Linked DNA regions of Homo sapiens: regions 1, 2, 3, 4, 5 and 7 are each linked to region 6. Evidence: promoter capture Hi-C in 16 types of primary human blood cells and fetal thymus (Javierre and others, 2016). All regions are on one chromosome and are shown on one strand. The core of a region is centred on a gene start or on the middle of the fragment in contact, and the rest is flanking DNA. Distances in the headings are between cores, read along the strand shown. Region 1 has its middle 670 kb from the start of VRK2. Region 2 has its middle 500 kb from the start of VRK2. Region 3 has its middle 650 kb from the start of VRK2. Region 4 has its middle 560 kb from the start of VRK2. Region 5 has its middle 580 kb from the start of VRK2. Region 6 holds the start of CCDC85A (coiled-coil domain containing 85A). Region 7 has its middle 600 kb from the start of VRK2.

What was found. The method cuts DNA at HindIII sites, captures the fragments that hold promoters and counts their contacts. A CHiCAGO score of 5 or more calls a contact.
Region 1: a contact is called between a fragment that was not itself captured here and the fragment with the promoter of CCDC85A in region 6, in 4 of 17 cell types (M0 macrophages, M2 macrophages, M1 macrophages and 1 more). The highest score is 10.1, in M0 macrophages.
Region 2: a contact is called between a fragment that was not itself captured here and the fragment with the promoter of CCDC85A in region 6, in 4 of 17 cell types (M2 macrophages, monocytes, M0 macrophages and 1 more). The highest score is 14.1, in M2 macrophages.
Region 3: a contact is called between a fragment that was not itself captured here and the fragment with the promoter of CCDC85A in region 6, in 2 of 17 cell types (M2 macrophages and monocytes). The highest score is 6.6, in M2 macrophages.
Region 4: a fragment that was not itself captured here is called in contact with the fragment with the promoter of CCDC85A in region 6 in 7 of 17 cell types (monocytes, neutrophils, total B cells and 4 more); the score reaches 13.2 in monocytes.
Region 5: a fragment that was not itself captured here is called in contact with the fragment with the promoter of CCDC85A in region 6 in 2 of 17 cell types (monocytes and M2 macrophages); the score reaches 7.4 in monocytes.
Region 7: a contact is called between a fragment that was not itself captured here and the fragment with the promoter of CCDC85A in region 6, in 1 of 17 cell types (monocytes). The highest score is 5.4, in monocytes.

What each region holds. Positions count from the first base shown.
Region 1 is chr2:57,372,419-57,376,057 of GRCh38, forward strand. No RefSeq gene overlaps it. Among named protein-coding and RNA genes, the nearest start is that of VRK2, 670 kb to the right of the region's middle. The HindIII fragment of the contact is 2,900 bases long and covers 582-3,481 here.
Region 2 is chr2:57,545,940-57,549,441 of GRCh38, forward strand. No RefSeq gene overlaps it. Among named protein-coding and RNA genes, the nearest start is that of VRK2, 500 kb to the right of the region's middle. The HindIII fragment of the contact is 5,465 bases long and covers 1-3,502 here.
Region 3 is chr2:57,390,046-57,393,621 of GRCh38, forward strand. No RefSeq gene overlaps it. Among named protein-coding and RNA genes, the nearest start is that of VRK2, 650 kb to the right of the region's middle. The HindIII fragment of the contact is 328 bases long and covers 1,700-2,027 here.
Region 4 is chr2:57,483,735-57,487,241 of GRCh38, forward strand. No RefSeq gene overlaps it. Among named protein-coding and RNA genes, the nearest start is that of VRK2, 560 kb to the right of the region's middle. The HindIII fragment of the contact is 872 bases long and covers 1,179-2,050 here.
Region 5 is chr2:57,467,169-57,470,317 of GRCh38, forward strand. No RefSeq gene overlaps it. Among named protein-coding and RNA genes, the nearest start is that of VRK2, 580 kb to the right of the region's middle. The HindIII fragment of the contact is 281 bases long and covers 1,253-1,533 here.
Region 6 is chr2:56,182,697-56,186,142 of GRCh38, forward strand. It overlaps CCDC85A (coiled-coil domain containing 85A), which reads left to right and starts at 1,294. Exons shown (of 6, transcript NM_001080433.2): 1 at 1,294-2,204. The coding sequence starts at 1,929. LOC100129434 (a long non-coding RNA gene) reads right to left here and starts at 3,074. Exons shown (of 3, transcript NR_125368.1): 1 at 3,002-3,074. RefSeq lists a silencer at 964-1,293. The HindIII fragment of the contact is 6,654 bases long and covers 681-3,446 here.
Region 7 is chr2:57,447,196-57,450,485 of GRCh38, forward strand. No RefSeq gene overlaps it. Among named protein-coding and RNA genes, the nearest start is that of VRK2, 600 kb to the right of the region's middle. RefSeq lists a silencer at 3,133-3,212. The HindIII fragment of the contact is 2,233 bases long and covers 742-2,974 here.

The DNA.
Region 1 (3,639 bases), core at 782-3,281, 1.2 Mb after region 6:
ATAAGTGTGGATGACTGCTATTAATCTTTGGAAAATTTTTGTCAGTTTCATTTTTAGGGGGACAATGGCTAGTCATACAAATGGTATGTATTAACAGAGATTGAAAAATATCTTCTCCCACTAACTCAGCTTCAAAATCAGGTCAGGTTGTTCTGTAAATGAAAACCCCACAAATGCTGTTTCTCTTATCCTCTTCTTTGGCTAAATCAGGACTCTAGACTTCAAAGCTAAAAATGTAGTCTTTTTCAGGAGTAATACAATCAGTGCAGATAAAAGTGAAAGTCACAGATTAGCCTCTTCAAACTTTAAAACTTAAGATGAAAAGACACATTTTAAATTTTATGGACAGTAAAATGTTGCACTAATCATGGAAATTTGACCTATAGGTAAAATTTTCTTTGATGTGTTTGTTTTAAGAGCAGTAAGCTAAGTCATGTAGTCATTAAACTGAGATAAGCCGAATGAGTTTGCTTTAATAAAGGTTCTAGGTAGTCTCTACAGATCTGTTTAAAAGTTGCAGTACATCTTTACTAACGTGTTCTTGGCATATCCTAGTTGACCAGCAAAAACCTGCTAAAATAAGCTTTAAAGACAATTTATATCCTTGTACACCACTGCTGAGTGCGTGTCTTGTAAATCTTTAGACTGGCCATGTTTTTCACTTATATCGTATCCCCTGTATAGAAAAGATTATCTTTTTACATGTTGAGCATCTTCTTTTAAATCTTAGGGAATTATAAGGAATAATACTTTTTAAGATGCCCATGCCCTCAAGAGTCTCAAGTACAGTATGGGAGCCAAATTGGTAAAGTCATAGTTTATAAGGTGTATTCTATAGGGAAGTAAGTGCTGTTTTAGAGTTTATAATATCATATATAACAAAATCACTAACTTTCTTGGAGAACTGACTAAGGCTTTGCAAAGAAAGCAAATTTTAATATGAATTTGGAATTACTAAAGTGATCAAAAAGAAATTTAAAAGAAAATTTAAAAAAAGAATCTTTTAGACAGAGGCAAGAGCACAGTCCAGAAAGGAATGAAAGGTCATAGAGTATTGAGGAAGTTCAGATAGGCTGGGGCATAGAACCTATAGCTGAAGATAGATTGTGGTAGACTTTCTGTGACAAAGAATCGGAACAGTGGCTTGTAGACAATGAGGAACCAATAAACAGGATCAAATTTCAATTTTTTTGGTATATTTTTGAAAACAATTAGCAGTGGCGTCATGAGTTATGAGTGGGGAATTAGCCAGGAGAATGAGAAATATGTGTCAGGAAGTTATGAGGCTGCTGCAGTGATGAGTAATCGAATACCAAAGCCCATTAGATAGGGAGGAAATAATGAATCCAGCCTCCATTTCTGAGGTCATCATTAGTGACTGATAGTCATGGATGGGAGAAAGAAATTGGAGATGAAGATTCTAATTTAGAGAAGGACAGTGGTACAAATAGTCAAGATAGAGGAAACTACAGGAGGAGTGACTAAGAGAGCTGGGACAGAGAATGAAAGTAGAAATAAACAAGTCCTTTACACCTGGTGATTCTGCAAGGTCCTACGAGACATAAGAACGGAGATATTCATTAAAGAGTTACAAATGTGGGTTTAGGTCTTGACCCATAAGTCCATAAATTTAGCACTTGATATTCTGTCAGCTGAAGAGCACACCTAGGAAGAGTATAACAAATGAGCAGAGAAAAGGTCAGAAATAAAACTCTAATGGATAATGACATTTGAAGGCATATGGAGGAAGAGAATACAAAAAATACTAAGAAAAAGTAACAAAAATAGAAGTTGTTGCTAGTGATGATAGTCTTCTGAAAGCCAAAGGAGATCATATCTAAAAGTCCAAAGTCCACATTGTCAAATGACAGCACATGAATCATAATGTTGCCATGTTAAAATACTTTTATGGTTATTTTGTTAAATTTTTATTGTATTTTCAAAAAACCAGGTGATGAGTAAGTACTAAAAGTGCCTTTACTGTTACAATGCCTTTTTCTTTTATCTTGCCCACAAAATAATGAATGTTATATTTAACATTTCTGTTTCTTTTGGTTTTTAACTTAGCTCTGTGTAAGGTAGAGATTGCATTTGACAGAGTAACAGAGTACCAAAATATAATGGCCTTAATATTCAAATATTTAATGTCTCATGTAAAGTAGCCCTCTCCAGTTTGCTACATTAGCTTTATGGTATTGTGGATCTGGCTCTTTGATCTAACAGGGTGCCTCACCGTCTTACAATGTGGCATCCATTCTCAAAGTCAGGATAATGGCTAAGGCTCTGGTCATCACATCTGACATAACAGTTTAATTTTTAAGCAGGGCAGAAGAGTAAAAATGGTGCTCCTTCCAGTTGACTAAGATCCCTTTAAAGAACCTTCCCAGAATTCCCTCCCAATACTTAATGTTTATTTGACCACATCTAGCGCAAATAAGATTGAAAATTTAGCCTTTATTTCTAGCAGTAACGGGTCAAAGTAGTATTTGTAGTCTAGCAAAGATAATAGATGTTCACTAGGTTACTAGCTGTCTTTGCCAGGAGCTCCTGAAATATGGACGAGTTTGGCTAGTTTAAAAAATAAAATGTAAAACTATTCAAATGTGGTCGTGTCCTTTACTCAAGTAACTAATCGTCAAGTGGAAAAACATATGTACATACAAAATACAGAAGCAGCATTCTTGCCATGAAGAAGATACATAAAAAGTGCAATGGGAAATAGTAGAAAAGTGATCCCTGATGGAATATAAATTTTCTGAGTGGCTAGTAATGGGACAGGATCAAAGAGGATGAAATACTTTTTCAGGCAGAGAAAATGACATGTGATAAAGCATCAAAGCATTGCTTGGTGAGAATAACATGGAATCTCAGGAATTGAAAGCAAATTCAAATATACATTCAAAGCTAAAATTAACTTAGAAAGCTAGGCACTTGGGGTGCGTGGAAACTTGTAGGTGCTGAGTATCAGCTACTGAAGAATTTTACGTGAAAGCTACCCCTAAAAACTGTAAGACAAATTATTTAGTAAAGTCCTGAGTGGCACTTGTATTTGATTTGTTAATTTGCTGGAAGTTCTTATGCTTCTCTAAGAAATAAATTGCTATAGGCATTTTACCAAAGAGGAAGATAAAGATGTTTGCTCTTTCAGTTTTATAAATCTTCATGTATTTGAAGAAGGTAAGATATTAAATGTATTTTAGTTGTATATTAAATTTTACCCCAAATGACAATATTAAGACTATGTGTAGAGAAATGTAAAAGATTTTCTTAGAAAAATTAATGTTTAATCAGATTTATTTTTTCACACTATATGAAATTTGATTTTCTAAATTATTTTACTTATGAGCTCTGGTACTTTTATTATTGTCATTGCTTTAAGTATTTTATTAAATTATTGATTTTCTGATGTTATTTCATTAATTATTCATCTCTACAAACTAATAAAACTAGCGCTAACATTTACTAACTTAACCTCTCAACAAGCTTCTGTGACAGATACCATTACAATGACAAGTTTACAGACTAAAAAATGTTACACATTGTATATTCTAACCTTTCTTTTTAAAAATAGGGAGAGATAACTTTCTGAGTAATTATTAGCAATTCATAAACCCTGCTGTTTACCACAAAGTCTGCACC
Region 2 (3,502 bases), core at 147-2,646, 1.4 Mb after region 6:
GACTGTAAGTTTAATTACTGAAGAGATAGAACAGAAGGGCTCTGGGTTTAGAAACATCAGATACAGCAGACGGTGAAGGTAAAGATAAAATTTGTTTCTGTACCCTAAAGTATGAGAACTATCCCTCTCTGTTTGCCCCAGAGAATACTACAGGTTTATTCTCTGGGAAAACAATTTTAAGAGGAGAGATCCACAGATACTGACAGAAATTCCTAAATAAGCTGCACAAACAAACCTACCCATAATGAATCTCAACAAACATATTTTCCTCTCTCTCTTACACATATACCCCCCTTTAATCAAGTTTAGTGGCTCACTACTAAAGTCATGGATTACCACACATTTGAGAAAAGTCCCTAAGATAACAGAGATCAAAATAAAAAAAAAAAGATAGGAAAAATCGCAAAGAAACTTGGAAAATAGAGACAGTGTGGAAGGCTGAATACAATTAGCAGGGGAAAAATAACCCAGCCATGTTATGCTCAGAGAAATAATTGAGGTTGCTGCTTCCATGAAAGAAGCGATGATTACACAAAAGAGAACATTTAGAAAACAAAGGAGTGCTCTTGAAATAAAATACAAACATGCCAAAGGAAAATAAAAATTCAGTAGAAATTTTAGAAAATTGACCAAATCTCAAAAAAAGACCCAAAATACAAAAAAGAAAGGAAAGGAAGAGAAAGGAAAGCAAAGGAAAGGAGAGGAAAGGAAAGGAAAGGAAGAAAAAAAGAAAGAAAGAGAGAGAAAGGAGGGAGGGAGGGAGGAAGGAAGAAAATAAAGAGAAAAAAAGTAAAAGAAAGAAGAAAGAAGCTAGACACTGTGGCCCATGTTAGTAATCCCAGAGATTTGGGAGGCTGAGGCAGGAGGATTGCTTAAGGCTAGGAGTTTGAGACCAGCTTGGGCAACACAGTGAGACCACAAACAAATTTTAAATAATTAGTCAGGCACGGTAGTGTGTGCCTGTAGTCCGAGCTACTCAGGAGGCTGAGGCAGAAGAATTGCTTGAACCCAGGAGTTCAGGTTTACAAATAGTGTAGTGATTATGCCATTACGCTCCAGCCTGGGTGGCAGAGCAAGACTCTGTCTCAAAAGAAAAAAATAAAAACAAAAACAAAAAGCAAGAAAGGAAAGAAGAAAGAAAAGAAGAAACTGCAAGGAGAGAAGAAAATTCTAAAGTTGGTTCAGGCGATCTAATATAAAAAGAAGAGAATTCTAGAAAGAGAAAAGATAAACAAAATTGAATAAGTACAATTGTTGGAGAAATATTTCAAGAAAAGACCCACCATATTGTTTGCAAAAAAGAATAAAGAGTGAACCACACTGAGACACATAAATACGAAAGTTCTGAACCTTGAATACAAAAAGAAGATCCTAAGCACTTCAAGAGGAAATAGGAGGTCACATGCACAAGGTAAGAAGTCAAAAGTGCTTCAGAAATCTCTAAACAAAACAAAAACAAGTAAAAATGAAAACACTAGAAACTAGAAAACAAGAGTACATTGCTTTCAAAGTTTTGAGAAAAATGATTTATGATCTAGAAGTTCCTTTCAGCCAGGTTATCAAATTTCAAACAAAAACAAAAACACTCAAGCACGTTTTCTTTGGAAGTTCCTAAACAATTTATTCCCCAAATGAAAGCATAAGTCAAAAAAGTGTAAGACACAGAATCCAGGTGCTCTAGCAAGGGAAAATCTGTAGAACGTTTGCAGAATGACAGTTGTGCCACAGGCCCATTCAAATTAGAGTAGGGCAACAGGAGAGAAGAGAACAAAGCTGAGGAGAGGACAGGATGGGAGGGGAAGGGAGAGGAGGGGAGGGGAGTGGAAGGGAGGGGAGGGGCAGCGAAGGGAAAGGGAGAGGGAAGGAGAGGAGAGAAGGAAAGGCGGGAGGGAGGGAGGAAGGAAGGAAGGGAGGAGTGAAGGAGAAAAAATAAAGAGAAAGGAAAGAAAAGGAAAGGAAAGGAGGAAGGAAGGAAGAAAGGAAGGAGAGAGAGAAAGAAAGAAAAAGAAAGAAAGAAAGAAAGAAAGAAAGAAAGAAAGAAAGAAAGAAAGAAAGAAAGGAAGGAAGGAAGGAAGGAAGGAAGGAAGGAAGGAAAAGAAAAAAGAAATCAAGGAAGAAATGAAAGCAGGAAGGAAGGAAGAGAGGGAGGGAGGGAGGGAAGAAAGAAAGAAGGAAGGAAGGGAAAAAAGAGGAAGGAAGGAACTGATGTGTTTGAATATATAGAGAGAAGATTTTCAAATGTTTGAGAATTTAGAAAGAAATTACTAATAGGTAGATAGAAACCTAAGCAAAGGTTAAAAAGAGGTAATTATTAACTCCAGGAAAGCAAGAAATAAAATACTCTTTTCTACATAACATAGTGTAAATCCAGATTTTCTCAAGTCATAAAAAGTCCCATCTGCAGATAATATATATACGATCAAATGGGTCCACACACTGAATATTGATCAAGCCATATTTGATGTAACTTTATTGATTGTATTAGAGAATATGTGCCTGTGTGTTTGGAAAGAGGGCTGAAAGATGCTTCACGAGTCTTCATTTTGCACAGTAGAAAAGAAACAGATATTCCATAAAATTCACTAAATGTAAAATTTGCCCACAAGCATCCTACATAGAAATAAGAAAGTATGTAATCTAGAAAAGTTTTAAAAATGATAAAAATTACCTCCTCTGAGGAATGGGAGTTTGTATGACTCGCAAAGTACAGTAAAAGGACTACTTATTTTGGCTATGAGCCTTGCAGAACTATTTGATCAGTGATACTCCATGCAAGTATTTCTTTGATAAAAACAAAACCAAATTTAAAGAACTCGCCAATTCTTTCGACATGAATCCTAAAAATGGCATTTATTAAATATAGCTCCGTTGCCTAAATTCATCATCTTTTTGTACTAGCCAACCTTTTATATAAGGTTGAAATGCTTCAATGGCCTTACGGAAGTCTTAGAGACACCTGAACAAGACACAGCTACAAGACAGCCTTTTTAATACACAATTTTCAGCAAAATGACAAATACACAACAACCTGTTTAATATGGTCCCACATGTGAGAGAAAAAAACTGATATATTACACACACAAACACGTGCTTGCTTGCATGCACACACACGTTTGTATATTCATAGAAACATTTTAGAAGTATCAGCAAGAACTTCTAAGCCTGATAAATTTCTGCACGTTAGATTTAGATCCTAGGGCTCAGGGAGACATACTATTACATAACTTCAGTAAAGTTTGGATTTGTTGTTTACTGTATGCATATTTTAGCTTTTTAATCTAAACAAGTCTCTACTTTTAAAAAATAAGGTTATAGAAAGTTGGAGAGAAAAAATAATGTAATGTACATAAGATATATGATCACTTCTATTTTTGTCTATTTATCTATTGAATACATTTCAGTACAATTGTCCTCTATTACAGATTATTTTTGAAGAATACGCTTGTGACTAATGTACAAAATAGCAAATTTGAAAGAAAAAAATTAAATTCATCAATATGGG
Region 3 (3,576 bases), core at 614-3,113, 1.2 Mb after region 6:
TTCACTGTTCAGTGTTATGAAACTAATATGTAAAACAAAAAGTGGGCATCAAGCAGTGCAGAATTGATTCCATGGCCATGAAATTGAGAAGGGGGAGAACGGCTCACTAATAAACTCAACTAATGAGGAGTAAGGGGTTAAAATATAGGATTTCTCTGGTGATGGGATTGAATATTAAAAATGAGAGAAGGAATAGTCATGTCTTTTCCGGAAATGAGTGGTGAACTTCTGCCTTCATTTAGTCCTTTTAGGGCTTCTTCTGGTCATTGTTATGGTGAGAGATGGGAATGTTATTTAGCATGGAAATGGGATTATAGTGAAGCCTGAGGTCTTTTTTAAGTTATTTGATTGGCTGTGATGGTTCTAACCAATCTCAGCTGGTCTGGTTACAAAGGACACTTTTTTTCACAGGTCTCTTGTTTCTTAAAGATAAGCATAACTAGGGCAGGGTAGAAATTCAGCTATGTCATGAAAGCATTACACAGGGTAACAGTAGTAGTAGAAGTAGTATTACCTGTAGTATTATCTTCATAATCATTGGAAATACTAGGAACTTTTTAAGTTACATTGTATAAAAAACAATGGCTGAATTTATTGCAATAAATCTCATGAGTAGGTTCTCAACAAAGATAGTGGTGGTGGGAATAGTGAGGAGAGGATGACCTGAGAACTGTGTAAGAGAAGAATCAAACACATCTGACCAGTTGGAAATGAGTATAAAATGTAGAAGGAAGAGTTTTATCCTCTAGTTTGGAATTCACAAATAGTAAATTTGGGGTATATTTCACAAGTAGTAAAACAAAGAGTGTAATACATCAGGATATGCTCTGATACATTAGTGCCTATAGAATTCAGGCTGAGAGCCATATGAGAAGTTGTTGCAAATACATAGCCTTTTTTCTACTTTTTTAAAGTATTGAGATATTAGGCATCTCTGTGCCGAGCTGCAGGACAAAAAGACCCTGTAGCAGTCAAGCCCTGCTATTCGTTGCACCTGCTCTGCATGCTCCTCAATGATATCTTCAGATTTGCCTAACAGCCCCATTAATATCTTTATCTCTGATAGCCTGACTCACCATATCTTTAATAAAACCCTTGTTCACAGGGTGACCACAATGCCTCTGCTCATTTTAGGTGCCTAAGTGTTCTAGCCTAGTAATTATCTTCCTCAAACGGCTCCCTTTTTAACCTATGCTTCTAGCAGCGGAGTTTCTTTGTTGCTATGGATTCTGGACAGACTATTTTGTCAATCCTTGAACCCAATATTCTCTTTTGCAAACAGTTATATACTAAAGTCGATATTTTCTTTTACCTCATTTCCTTGTTAATAGACAAAGACATATATTGAGAATATACTTGTCTGGCATCCTGCTGAGATTAGTCCTTGGATTTCTGCTGACTTTAATCTTTATAAATGATCTAGAGAAAGGCAGTGACTGTGAACTAACTGGAAATACTAATCAGCCAAAATTGCTGGGGAGGAAAGAAGTAGAGGAAGCTACAAACCCAACACAGGTGGAGTCCAATATGCCATGTAGCTAAGTGGGTGTGTGGTAAACTGACATAATAAGGAACCTTGTGAAGAGCACTACAAATTGGAGATAAATGATTAAGAAATATGTAACACCATTCAGTTGAAATGCATGAAGTTTTGGGCATAATTATGGATCAGTCACCCCGAAAGGCATTAAATGTGTGAAGCTTCAATTAGACCAGGAAAAGGATAAGATCCACTAAAATAGTATACTTGAAAACAGAATTGTATTTCAATTTATTTTAACTTTCATTTAAAAATACTAATGAGAGAAGAAACAGAAATGTGGTATCAAGATTTGCTGCCAGAGACTCATTTAAGAAACTGGAGCGTTTGCGTATGTGTGTTTGGAGTTCATTGCAATTTAAAGTTTTGATACATGCATACACTCATAACTACCACCTAAATCAAGATATACACACATTTTTTATCAGCCTAACCTAGAAACTGTTCTTAAATCCTCTTTAAAGGCAACCTCACTTTTTCTACAGGAAGCTTCTTTCAGTTCCTTCTATACCCGTAGATTCATATGGCACGAACCAGGATTTCATATACATGAAATAATATAGTATGTGCTCTGTGTTTGGCCAGCATTTGGCTTCTGAGATTAATTCAAACTGTTTGGTTTATCACTACTTCATATCACAACTTTTTAATTCATTATCCCACTGATGGACACTTTCACCATTTTTGTTTGGGGCTCTTTTGTGTGTGTGTTTAAAGCTTCTGTGAACTTTCCTGCAGAAGTCTTTCTTTCTTTCTTTTTTTTTTTTTTTGAGACGGAGTCTCACTCTGTCATGCAGGCTGGAGTACAGTGGCATGATCTCGGCTCACGGCAAGCTCCACCTCCCGGGTTCATGCCATTCTCCTGCCTCAGCCTCCCGAGTAGCTGGGACTACAGGCGCCTACCACCACGCCTGGCTAATTTTTTGTATTTTTAGTAGAGATGGAGTTGCACTGTGTTAACCAGGATGGTCTCGAACTTCTGGCCTCATGATCTGCCCGCCTAGGCCTCCCAAAGTGCTGGGATTACAGGTATGAAGAAGTCTTTTCTTTTTGAACATATGTTTTAATGTATCTTAGGAATTGGATCATAGAGTAGTTATGTATTTCCAACTTCTGAAAACCTCTGGGGTTCCTTGGCTTGCAGCAACGTAAGTTTAATCTCTGCCTCCATCTTCACATGACTTTTCTGTGTCTCTGTGATCTCTCCTTTCCTTATGAGTAAATTAGTCATTGGATTTAGGGCCCACCCTAACACAGTACAACCACCTCCTAACTCAATTAACTGCAAAGACCAGATTTCCAAATAGGTCACAGTCTTAGGTCTCAGATGGTACAAATTTGTGATTACATGATTCAATACACTAGTACTATATACTAATATTATATAGAAATACAATTTATTTTTTAATGTCCTAGTGTCTCATGACTTTGCTGAAGTTATTTATTAGATACAAAATTTGTCTTATACATTTTTAGAGTTTTTATTTTGTACAATCATGTCTGATCATCTGTGAATAAAGGCAGTGTTACATTTTTCATTTCAATCTGTATCTTTCATTTCTTTTTCTTATCGTTATGCTCTCAAAACAACCTCCAGTACAATATGAAATAAACATAGTATGGAGAAACCCCATCTCTACTAAAAATACAAAAAAAATTTTACTGGGCATGATGGTGCATGCCTGTAATCCCAGCTAATCGGGAGGCTGAGGCAGGAGAATCGCTTGAACCCGGGAGATGGAGGTTGCAGTGAGCTGAGATCATGCCATTGCACTCCAGCCTGGGCAACAAGAGCAAACTCCATATAAATAAATAAATAAATAAATAAATAAATAAATAAATAAATAAATGTAGTATGTCTATACTTCCTTTCTCCAATTTTAAGAAAAAAAGCAATGGCTATGGATATTTTACAGATGCCCTTTATCATATTAAAGAATGTTATTTCCATTCCTATTTTGTTGAAATTTTTATCACGAAAGGCTGTTAGATTTTCTTAAATGCTTTTATTCAACATATTGATGAAAATGATCATT
Region 4 (3,507 bases), core at 365-2,864, 1.3 Mb after region 6:
TCATTGCGGAGACCGATGTTATATAAGTTTTGCCTTATGTTTTTTCTATTACTTTTATAGTTTCAGGCCCTACATTCAAGTCTTTATTTTGAGTTGATTTTTGTTCATGGTGTGAGATAAGGGTCCAATTTTGTTCTTCTGCACTGAATATCCAGTTTTCCCAAGCCTTTCCCCATTGTATGTTTTTGACAGCTTTGTCAAAAGCAATTGACTATAAATGTATGGGTTCATTTAGGGGCTCTCTATCGTGTTCCATTCATTGATATATCTATTTTTATGCCAGTATTATGCTATTTTAATTATTGTAGGTTTGTAATATACAGATGATCCCCGACTTACAATAGGGTTATGTCCCAATAAACCCAGTGTAAACTGTAAAAATCATAAGTCAAAATATCCAAGTTGGGAAGTATTTATAATTTAAAGTCAGGTAGTTTGTAGTTTGATGCTTCCAGTTTTGTTCTTTTTGCTCAGAATTGCCTTGGCTGTTTACGGTTTTTTTTGTGTGTGTGTGTGTACATTTGTGTGGTTCCATTATGACTTTTGGGATTGTTTTTCCTATTTCTGTAAAAAAAAAATGGCATTGGAATTTTGATGCAGATTGTATTGAATCTGTAGATCAAGTTGGGAAGTACAGACATTTTAACAATATGAATTATTCCAACCCATGAACACAGAGTATTTTTTCATTTCCTTGTATATTCTGTAATTTCTTTTCTCAAAGTTCTGTAATTTCTAAGACCTGTATTTTTCATCTCCTTGGTTAAATTTATTCCTAAGTATTTTATTTTGTGTACCTATTATAAATGGAATTGTTTTCCATGGATAAATGGGGCAGAGGGAATTGGTACACAGACCCATATCCATGGAAGGCAGAAGGTCTGATTGACAACAGAAAATTAGTGAGCTGTAGAAATGCGAAAGTAATTTCTGGTGCTCAAGTGAAGGAATAGGTTTTAGAGCAGAGCATGGATGGTTTATCAGTACATCTGTGGGACCAGGAAGGAAGGCCCAGTTGTTGGATCAGATGCTAGTAGATGGATAGATGTAGTTGTATGAATCTGGGGATCTCTGCTGAATGTTTTAGTTGTCTCAGTGAAATTGTCATTAAGACTATCAGCTGAAAGTAAGAAGACAGGGAAAATTGATATTTGAAGAGAAAGGAAGAACGTGAAATAAGCTTCTAGGAGAGTGGGAAAATAAATAGACTACAGAAATAGAGTGTGATCCTCTGCTCATCTGAAGTTTTTGGCCATGAATTTAAAGTAAGACTACTCAGTTGCATTGTTTGTGTTACTCTAGTCATTTTCAGCGGCACAAATGTCTTTGAAAATCTCAAAAAAAAATGATTTTCAACATAGAATTCTATACCTTTCCAAACTTTCAGTAAGAGTCGGGATGAGATAAAAATAATTTCAAACACACAGGTTTTCAAAGAAGTGACCTCCCATGCATGCATTCCGAGGAAATACTGAAGGATGTGCTCCATCAAGATGAGGATATAAACTAAGAAAAAGAGAGATATGAGATAACAAGAAACAGGAAATCAAACGTGGATAGCAGTGAAGGGAATCCTTGAATATATGTGAAAGGAGGGGCTCACACAACAGCTGTGCTCCAAGAACAGAGGGCAGTCAAATCTGACTAGAAGGAGTACTGCTTCAGGAAGATGAAATGGACAGAATATGTGAAATAACTAAATGTCTTTAGAGGAGATTCAGGAAATTTTTAAAAAGTTGGTTACTGATGAGTACGTAAAGATATGAAAATTATTAGTTCCCAGTAAAATAAAAAGGTTTCTAGGAGGGAAAAGTAATTATAGTTTATTGACCGGATCAGTTGTAAGCAGTGTTTACAACATAATAATGCAAATACTGAACAGCAGTCTTATAAAAATTCCATATAACAATATCACAATGTTGGGGGATAGAAGTACCATTCATGCATGGTGGAAATAGCAATTGGAGAACTAAAAATATCCAAATTCTTACATTAAAAAGGAGGTCAGCTATTAATAATTCAGGCTGAAAAATAAAAATGCTGCAATGTAAGCTTTTATTTAGAAATTTAGATCAATGCCAAAATAATTACTCAATAGAGGTGAAATTAGTTGTCTTTGGAATGGGAGCAGGGGAAAAGGCAGAGAACTTTGCTTCCCTCCAAGAAATGACATAGAACCATTTTACTCATTATGCTCACGCATAACTGTGTGCAAGAAAAAGAGAAGAAAAAGAACACACACAGAAGAAGTAGCACACTTGAAAGAAATGGAAAGTGGTTCAAAGTAGCTGCAGGGTAGAATGTGTGTAGTGATGTTTAAGGCCAATAAAAAGAGAAAAGTAGGTTGTGAGAAAAACGTCAAACTAAGAAACTTTTACTTCATTCAAGAGAATATAAGAAATCATCACAAGTAATGAGGCAAGAAAATTATATAATCAGATTTGTGCAAAGATGATTCTAAGAGCAGTGTACATTGTAGTTTGGAAGATACAAGGCTGAAACATCAAAATGAGCCACATTACTGAAATTTCTCAGAAAGACACCAGGGCCTTAGGCTGTCTGTTTCCTTTCAGGCTATGTGTATCTATTCCACTTCCATATCCCTCACCTTTGCCTATTTCTCTTTCCACTTCTCCTTAAGACTTATTTTCTTCTCTAAAGCCAATAATAGAAGTGAAGATTTTGTGTGTGTGTGCATATGTGTGTGTGTGTTACTGTGGGCATATGCATAACATGCATATTTTTCTGAAAATGAATACATAACTATGCACTCTACTTAATTTAAAAGGTGTGTATATATGAAAATTCTATTATCTTATGGAAAAAATAATTCTATTTTACAATGTGGATAATTGTTTTTTATGGGCCAGTGGTCTCTGACATAAAATATATTGTCTAAAATGTTATCTAAGCCCTAAATTGGAGTTTGAGGTAAAAAAAAATAGAAATAAATATATAACATTATTAATCTGAAAACATCCCTGATGCTATAAGTCAACCCTAATATCCTTAGTGAGACCTAAAATGAGAGCTAATGCCCAGCGTTGTGCTTGGTCTCTCATGTAAAATCCAGACTAAAGGATCCAGCCATTTGAATCCGATCAGCCGTGGGTGGGACCTCTCCCTGATGCTATTTATCTCTGTGTGTATGATGCCCCAAGTCCTTCACTTAGAAATTCTTTCATTAACTGTTCATTTTGGCTCTCTCTGCTGCTGACATGATCATTTTTCTTCCCTGTGTTGCTGCTATTTTATTTTCTAGTCTCTCTCTCTCCTTTCTAGAATGCCTCTAAGTTTCACATTTCTACAGCTCACTAATTTTCTGTTGTCAATCAGATCTTCTGCCTTCCATGGATATGGGTCTGTGCACCAATTCCCTCTGCCTCCATTTATCATGTTTTTGTTTTTCTTCATTTCTTTTATTAAAAAAAAAAGCTGCCTTCTCAGTTATTTTCCTGCTTTTAGTAATCAGCGAAGCAAAGCAGACAGGTAAACTGAACAATGATG
Region 5 (3,149 bases), core at 143-2,642, 1.3 Mb after region 6:
AAGTGTGTGTTTGTGCCCTTTTGCCTGCTTTTTAATGGGGTATGTTTCTTGCTTGTTGATTTAAGTTGCTTATAGATTCTGGATATTAGGCCTTTGTCAGATGCATAGTTTGCAAATATTTTCTCCCATTCTATAGGTTGTCTGTTTACTCTCTTTAGTTTCTCTTGCTGTGCAGACACTCTTTAGTTTAATTAGGTCCTATTTGTCAATGTGTTGTTGTTGTAGTTGCTTTTGAGGATTTAGCCATAAATTTTTTGCTAGGGCCAATATTGAGAAGGAGTTTTTCTATGTTTTCTTCTAGAATCTTTTTTTTTTAATTTAACTTTTAAGTTCAGGGGTACATGTGCAGGCTTGTTATATAGGTAAACTTGTATCATGGGGGTTTGTTGTACAGATTATTTTGTCACCCAGGTATTAAGCCTTGTACCCATTAGTTATTTTTCCTGTCTAACATTTGTCTTTAATCTGACTTCCATTAATTTTTGTATAGGGTGAAAGGTAGAGATCCAGTTTCCTTCTTCGGCATATGGATAGCCAGTCATCCTAGCACCATTTATTGAATGAGGAGTCTTTTCCCCATTGTTTATTTTTGTTGACTTTGTCAATGATCAGATTGTTTTAGGTGTGCAGATTTATTTCTGGCTTCTCTATTCTGTTCCATTGGTCTACCTGTCTGTTTTTGGAACAGTGCCATGCTGTTTTGGTTACAGCAGCCTTGCAGTATAGTTTCAGGTCAGGTAACATGATGCCTCTGACTTTGTTTTTTTTTTTGCTTAGGATTGCTTTGGCTCTTAGGGCTCTTTTTATTCCACAAAAATTTTAGAATCTTTTTTTTTTCTTAATCTGTGAAAAATGACATTGGTAGTTTGTTAGGAATAGCGCTGAATTTGTAAATTGCTTTGGGCAGTATGGCCATTTTCATGATATTTATTCTTCCTACCCATGAGCATGAAAATACCTAGGAATACAGCTAAGCAAAAAGGTGAAAAATCTCTACAATGACAATTACAAAACACTGATGAAAGAAATCAGAGATGATGCAACAAATAGAGGTGACAGTTTTAAGAAGCTCTAATATCTAACTATGGTGGATAGAGAGTATAAGGAGCTAACCTAGGGTATAAATTGAACTTCAACCTTAAGGTCTATCCATGGAGATTAACTTCCTGAGAAAATGTTATCATGAACTTAATGAATATAAGCTACCAAGCATTGGAATAGCAATTTCAAAGATATTTCTCCTTTGTGTATAAGCTTCATTTAGTGGGGGGTCTACATTCCATGAAAATTTGTGAACTGGAATATCCCTAGTGATTATAGAAACCACAGTCTTCATTGCCTATCAATATGTTTGGTTAAACTATATTCACAGAGATAATTTAATTGCAAATGAATGTAACTTAGTTGTTTTCTAATCTGAAATCATTTTTAGGATATTTTAAAAATATACATGTCACATACTTAATTTTTATGAGGGCATAAAAATAACAACACATATCTTGGATATTTTATCATACTTTTAAAAAACATTTAAGCTTGACTCCACATTTTCTCTTTTCCCTGAACCTACATTAGCTCACCTGTACCCTAAATTTCATAATTCCTACATATCCTTTATTTCCATTTTATTTCCCAGAAAATACATGTATGTATAACATATATGTATATATGTGTATACACACACACAATGTCTTAGTCTATCCAAGCTGCTATAACAAAATAATGTAAACTGGGTAGGCTATAAACACCAGAAATTTATTTATCACAATTCTGGGCTCTGAAAAGTCCAAATCTGAGGTAGATTTGGTGTCTGGTAAGGGCTTCCTTTCCAGCTTATAGGTGATGCCTTCTAGCTATGTTCTCCCATGTGCAGGGAGTGAGAAATCGCTCTCAGATCTCTTTTATAAGTACACTAATGTCATTCATGAGTGACCCACTCTCCTCATCTAATCATGTCCCAAAGACCTCATCTCCTAGTACTATCACCTTGAGGGTAGGATTTCAACATAAATTTTGGGGAGACATAAACATTCAGATCATAATACATCACACACACACACACACATACGTTACAAACACCTAGCCCAGCTGCATTTTTGGACAAGACACTAGAGAAAGAAAGAATCTTTGTAATTTGCAAGTGCTTTTAGTCTCATATATTACTTAATAATTTTGGAATTATTCTTTGAATACAGCATTTTCTTCTAAAGGAATGCCTGTTTATGTTAGTAAATTTTTTAAACAAATCACATATTCCTCACTATAAGAGAAAAATCAAGGTGATTATGTATTAAATTCTCACATATACAATGGAGTCTGCTTTTGAACATGACTGGATTCCACTGATCAATTTGTCTATTGCTAGTTTACATCAATACCACCTTAATTTTATTAATGTGGTTTTATATTATGTTCTAATATCTAGTTCTCTTTTTTATATATTGTAACTTATTTCCTTCTCATATTTTCCTATCACATATTAGATATTTGTTTTTTCTTACAATTTTAAAATAAATTTTGCAGTTAGGTTATTTTACTTTTGTATTTACTGCAATCAGTGTTAGAATACTTGTGGTTATGACATTTTGATCTAGTTTCTGATTTTAATTGAAATGCAGTTGGAGTTACTGATTTGGGATAATATTTTCCACTATTGTTGGTAAACTGTCTTTCTTACAGTTAAGTGGGTCTCTACTTTTATGGATTACTTAGAGTTTTTAAAATTAGGAATGTGTTTCTTAATTTTCTCAAATACCCTTTCAACCTTTATATCTGTAATCTTGTGCTTTTTCTATTTTGTATTTATTTTTTTTGAGACAGAATCTCTCTCCGTCACCCAGGCTGGAGTGCAGTGGCGTGATCGTGGCTCATGCAACCTCCGCCTCCCGGGTTCAAGCGATTCTCCTACCTCAGCCTCCCGAATAGCTGGGATTACAGGCATGGGCCACTACACCTGGCTAATTTTTGTATTTTTAGTAGAGACAGGGTTTTGCCATGTTGGCCAGGCTGGTCTTGAACTCCTGACTTCAGGTGATCCGCCTGCCTCGACCTCCCAAAGTGTTGGGATTACAGGCGTGAGCCACTGTGCCTGGCAATCTTGTGCTTTTTCTTTGTGTTGCACATGTCTTTGGGTGTCTTATTTTCTTAAT
Region 6 (3,446 bases), core at 44-2,543:
AGTAAATGCTCTGAGAAAAGGAAGGTCTGGGGCCTACAGTTAGGAAGAAACCTGTCTAAAGTTTAGTTAAGCTGAGGGGAATGTTAAGGCCATTTGGTCACCGTAAGCAGTACCACATTTCCTTGCCTCTCCCGGGAGCCAGGTCTCAGTGTCCCCAATAGGGGACACGCACTGACCGGCGGGTGAAGGGACTGATTTTGATTATCATCCTACCAGATAGAGATTATTCCCTCTGCACCCGGGTTAACTGAAACCCGGTGGGGGTAGATCCTTGCCATTTTCCGGCCCTGTACCCCACTGGAAATAACATGCGGTGGTCAAGGGCATCCACCTCTTTAGGCAAAAGCATGTTTTCAGCCCAGAGACGATTCCACCCAACTTTACAAGAGGATAGCCCAAAGATAGAAGCCAGGGACTCAGACTTCCTCCTTCCAGAAATAACCATCATAAAAAAGCCGACCCAGTAAACGCCTGGCAGCCTGCGGCATAGAAGAAAATGGAAATCTCCTTGGCTGGCATTTCAGCTTGCCTGAGGGGGCTTGCTTTGCTCCGAGGGGAGGTGACTGTGCTGACCTTAAAATCCAGGTTTCAGGAAGCAGGAGATGAAGGTATTTTATTTTCGCCTAAAGGCTTTGATATTTTTCAAATAAAAATTTAAAAGATCCAGTACCTTCTCCCGAAGCTTCTTCATAGAGTAGTGGATTTTTAGAAAACACAAAGGCCTAGGGGTGGGGCGAGAGTGGGGGGTGGGGATGGGTAGCCCCATAAGAGCAGTGCCCTGACGCCTCTTTTCGCCCTTTTCAGACCATTTGGATTTTCTTAAGCTGCCCCTTTCCCCAACCCCCGTTTTTGCCATTTGCCTCTCCTCCCATTCTCCAAAGTGCAAATAACTGGTTATCCCTCAGGTCCTGCTACCCCATCTTTCCTGATCCCCGATCCCTCCAAATACGAAGCACCTCGCATTTGGGTCAGCAGCTGTTTCCCCTGCCTGGTGACAAGGCCGGTGTGCAGAGGGCAGAGGAGGGAGCTTCTTCCGCCACACGGTGGCGCGCGCGAGCCTCCCAAAGACCGGGCGGCCACAGCTCCTCACCTTCTCCCCATTCCAGCCCCACCCGCCCGGGCGCAGAAAGAGCCGCGCCCCCAGCCCTCCCGGGCAGGACAGCCGGGAGCGCACCTCGAGGGCCCGGGCAGCGGTCGAGTGGCAGCTGCGTCCAGCCCATGCGGGAGCTGCTGCGGGTTACGGGTGGCCCCAGCTCCAGGCTCCTCCTCCAGCCGGTCCCCCACCCTCCACCCCTTCTCGACTCCGCTCTGCAAATCGAAGGCTTTCCGGAGCAGCCTAGGAGCGGCCGCGGGCGCAGCGAAGGCGGCAGGAGGAGCGCAGCAGCCTTCGGGCAGCCGCGGCGGCGTCGCTAGAGCAGCCGGGGAGGCGCCGCGGTGCCCGGCGCGCCCTCCAAGCTAGGAGAGGGGAGAAGCCGGGGGCTGCAGCTGGGCAAGGGGGAGGAAAGTGCGTGTGCGTGCACGCCTGTGTGCAGGGCAGAGAGTGCGGGGGGCGACAGTCTCGGCTTAGGGCGGAGGAGAGGGCAGGGGAACGGCGGTGCAGCTCCCCCGCTGTCCCCGAGGATTTCCCGCGGCAGCCCCGGGCTCCCCAGTGCCCCTCACCATGGACTTGCGCGGAGTTGGGACGGGCCTCGGCAGCAGCAAGCGGCTGGCTGCCGGGCCCTGGGGGAGCGCGGGCGCGCGCGCGGGGATGGCGAGGTAGGATGGCCACCCAGCGCGACCCCCGCCGCCCCAACCCAGCGGCCCCTGGGCGGTGCCGCTGACTCGCCGGAGCGCACAGGGGTGTGGGCGGAGGCGGCCTCGCCGCGCCCGCGCCTTCGGGAGTCGCCTCGCCTCTTCCACCCACTTGCACCTGCCACCCCGCGGATACCATGTCGAAGGCGGCCGGAGGCGCGGCGGCGGCTGCGGCGGCGGCGGAAAGTTGTTCCCCAGCCCCGGCCGGCTCGTCCGCGGCCCCGCCCGCGCCGGTGGAGGACCTGTCCAAAGTGTCGGACGAGGAGCTGCTGCAGTGGAGCAAGGAGGAGCTGATCCGCAGCCTGCGGCGCGCCGAGGCGGAGAAGGTGAGCGCGATGCTGGACCACAGCAACCTCATCCGCGAGGTGAACCGCCGCCTGCAGCTGCACCTCGGCGAGATCCGCGGCCTCAAGGTGAGCGCGGGCCAGGTGGGGAGGCGCGGCGCGGCTGGGAGCGGGGTGCCCCGAGGAGGAGGCGGGGCCAGGCAAACTTTCCCTCCCTCCCTCAACAGGTGACCCTCCCCTTCTCCCGGTCGGCACCCCCTACCCCCAGTCCCCAGCCCCTGTGTAACTTTTCCAAACTTCGGAGGCGTCTGCTCCCCTCCTCTCCCCAACACGGGGCGCTCCACTGTCTGGCTGTTCGGGGAGGCGCTGAGGACGCTGGAAAGCAGGGAGGGAGGTGAAGGGCACGCGAACCTTTCATTTCTTAGGGAGGCTGGAAAATCTGTGCCTGGGGAGCCGGGTTTCAGTCAGTTAGGCGGAAAGGCCAGTGAGGGGGTGAATCCAGGGGATCTTCGCCTTGGAGGGTCGGGAATGCGGCTGCTCTGGGCCAGCAGCTCTTGGGCGGGCAGAGGGCGAGGAAAGGGCGCCACTGCCAGGGAGAGCGGCTGGCGGGGCGCCCGGGAGAAGCAGCGGGCGCCACCCTCAGAGCAGTCTTGTGTCACCGGGTACATAGGAGTTCAAGCTCTGCCTTCACGTCTTCTCCCAATTCCTGTGCTTTCCCTCTCCCGGAGTTTGGAAGGCATCCCCTGGAGTTGCCTTACTCCCCTTCCCACTTAACCCCAGGTTGACTGGGGGAAAGAGGAGGAGCAAAGAGACTCAGTATGGAAGGAGCAGCATTTTGACAGAGTACCCCAAGTGTTGGTCAGTGATGGTTTCTTTCTGAGCCAGCCCCCCTGCCACCCTCTTCTAGGAAAAGAAGGGAAACGTACCCCAAGCCCACTAACTTTCTTTTCTCCTTGGAGAGCGCCGGGTCTGCGAGGAGTGTGCCTGCCCAGCTGCAGTACACTAGTGGCCGGGAACCGCCCTGCTGGCGAGCACCACAAACTTCCTCTCCTTCCAGCTAGCGCTGGTGCCTCCTGGTATTCCTTCCTCTCATTGTTCTGCTTTGTTTGTAGGAAGCCAGACACAAACGAAATCACTGCAGGGACTTCAGGGAGCAAATTCCCGAAGGCACAAGCTGTTCTTTTCCCCTTTCCACTCCTATCCCCACATATCAGACAGTAGATGCTGTTCCGGAATTGCCTCAGTGCTCCAGCTCTGGGATTCTGGGGCAAGAAAGAGTGGGAAGAGTGGAATGCTCAAGGCTCACCTATGTGCTGGGCCCAGTTCAGGTGGAGATGGCCGTCTCCCGAGGCCGAAAGTCATTGTCATATA
Region 7 (3,290 bases), core at 608-3,107, 1.3 Mb after region 6:
ATGTTTTGGTTGCATTTGATATACTTATTTTAAAATGCTTTTAATGTAGTTGCATCAAACATCTTTTTTCTTGTAATTTCAATCTTTGTTTTAATGCTTAAAATAGCCATTTCAGCCAAATATTATTTACATATTCATCTATATTTATTTTAGTACACTTGTAGTTTTATTTTTAAATAAATCTTTAATGCAATTGAAAATATGCATATGAGATAATATTATAAGGTAGATACATGAGTTTTCTTTTTTTCTTCCAAGCACAATCAGATCTAGGTTATCAGATGGGCAATTCTCTCCTGATATGAAATACCCTTTTTATAATTCATTAAATTATTATGATTTAGATGCGTTAGCTTCTCCCTAGGGCTATTTAAAGAATCAAGTACCATAGTAGATTTAAAATATTAAATAAATAACAATTATTATTACTCAAGAATGCTTAACTCATTAAATAGATTGAAGATGGGTTTCCAAAATGTTATATGAGCCATCTACCCTTTTGGAGCAAGTGAATATGTACGTGATCCCTGACAAATTATTTTCTGTTTATTTAACTTAGCAATTCTGTTCAAATTTAACTAGTGTTCAGCACTTGGATTTTCATTTTGCACACTAGATGTATGCATTTCTGGAATAATTGAATAGTGTCTTACAACCTGAAAAAAATAAACATAAGCAGCACATGTTCATTGAAGGATTGCAGACAGCACGTAGTCCGTGGATTAGCTTGATTCAAAATGAAGCTTTAATTAGAATATATATTAGAACCAAACTTATAAAGCAGAGTAGGACCTGGAGTGGAGCCTGGACTCATTACTTACAGTCTAAATGGCAGCATTATCATACATCCTTCAGGAAGAACTTAGTCTTTATAATAGAAACAAAGCAATACCTGAGCTTCTGAACAAGATTTCTCTACACAAAGAAATATGTGTGAAACAATAAAAACCTGGAAAGCAATCTAGAGTGTGGTTGAATAAGCTATAGAAATTGCTATGAACTAAAATAAGTGAGGAGCAAAATATGGATTGAGTAATAAGAAAATTTGCCTAAAGCCACATGTCGGAGATAGTCTATCTAATTTACAACTTCTTTGCTCTAGTGACAAGTGGTTGACTGCTTTTTGGTTTTTATGTGTGCGTTTTTGGTTATAAAGTATAGCATTACAAGAAAAGTTATTTCCCTGTAATATCTCAAGTTATTCCCTAGAGAACAGATTTTTTTAAACAAAATGTACTCTGACCCAAAAACATTTGTATTCTAAAAGGGAGTTTCATGGGCACTGTCTGTCAGCATGCTCACTGTGTTTTGTTCTTTAAGAAGACATTAGTATACTCCAAACTTATCCAGATTGAGTAGGATAGATATAAATAAATTTCACTTATATATCATAAATGGGATTATAAAATTCATCAGTAAAATAATGATCTGGCAAAATATTTACTTTAGAAAACTATTAATAAGTCCTTACATATTTGGAATATAACAAATGATTAGAATAAACTGATAGCTCTTTTCTGGGGCAAATTTCATTCCTATAGTTTCAAGAAGAGTTGAAAACTTAAAGGAATAAAATTGTTTTTAATATTTCAAAACATATATATTAGTCAGGCTTTAAAAATAATGTATAATAAGAACCCTAATATCTCAGTAGCTTAAAATACCAGACATTTATTTTACACTCACGTGTCTGCTATTTGGCTGCAATTCAACAGATTTTGTCTGAGCTTGGATATGCTGGATGATATTACATTTGGGTTCAGATCTGCTTTGCATGCAGTCATTCTAGAAAACAACTGGAAGGAGTAATGAACGCCTGGGGCATGTTCTTCCATTGCAAATCCTTCCAAAATCCCAGCTCAGAACTAGCCTTCTGACACTGTTGCCCACAACCCAGCTGGCCACAGCCAGTCATATAGCCAAATTTTTTGCCTATGAACTGGAGAAGTACGCTTTGGCCATGCAGAGGAGTAGGCAGTTAATATGTGATGAGGAGTAACCTAACCTACCACAATGAGAATGAGCTGGTTTATGAGCTAGTTCAAATCTTCTACTAGAAGATAAAATGAGAGATTCCACTCCAATGATCGATATTCAACAAGTCTGAGAGGAAATTACACCCTATTAGACATTTTGTCTATTCAAAGACTTACACTTTGAGTGCAGAAAACAACATTATATCATATAGTCATCTCTTCTATTGGACAGGAGGTCTTGGGAATGTAAAGCGAAATTTATGATAGTAAAGGCAGTGTCAAATTAATGTGCAATATTCTTCTTAATTATCAGATTATTTGGCAAACTTTCCATTTAATGCAAGATGAATAAAAGTGTAGAGATTACCATACCTTCTTTAGTTATGAATCCAAAACTCCTTTTCATCAAAGTCTTTTAAAAGATAAGAAAAATGATACCTATATTATGGTGTTTGTTAATTCAAGTTTACTTGACTGCATAACTTTTCTGGTTTATAAATACAGTAATACAGCATATTTTTATTTTTCATTATAGAGATCAAATATTTGACTATTCTGTATGTTACAAGTTCAATCAGTTTTTTTTATTGACATTAGCACAAGGTGATCTTATATTATTCAAGGTAAAATGGTGATTCCAAATTAAGAAATGAGGTGATATTAAAGTTGTTTACTAACTTCTTTAGTCATAATTTATGTAAATTACCTCCTCAATAAAAACCACTAAAATATTTTTTATTTAGAAGAATGTTAATTCACCTTCTATACTGTGCTACTTGATTTTATTAATTGATATACTTCTTGTTGGATGATGTTATACTTAATCTTCCTTCAATATCCAGCTTATGTTCCACTTTCTCCATGAATTTTTTTTTAGATACGATGACCTACACTGATCTCATCTGTCTCTGACATCTCTTGGTTTTTGTAAATACTATTTTTTGTTGTTGTTGTTGTTCTCTGATGCTTATAATATCAGTTGTTCTTTCAAGTAGAAAAGCTTTGGTTATCTAGTGCTGCCTAAGAAATCCCAAACTTCTAGCAAAAACAGTAACTATTGTTTATTTTTCTTATCTCTCCTCATTCTGTGGTGACTAACCTTATCTAGGTGGTTGTCTCATATGGTCTTTCATGAAGTTGCAGTCTGACAGCATCTGGGCTGGAGTCATCTCAAAAGCCACCTCAGTCAAGTTTCTGTAGGCTGATGCTTGCTATGAGCTAGAACCTCACTGGGAGCTCTCAGCCAAAACACCTACACATGGTTTCTTCATATGACTGAAACTTCCACACATTATGGCACCTGGATTCTAAGAG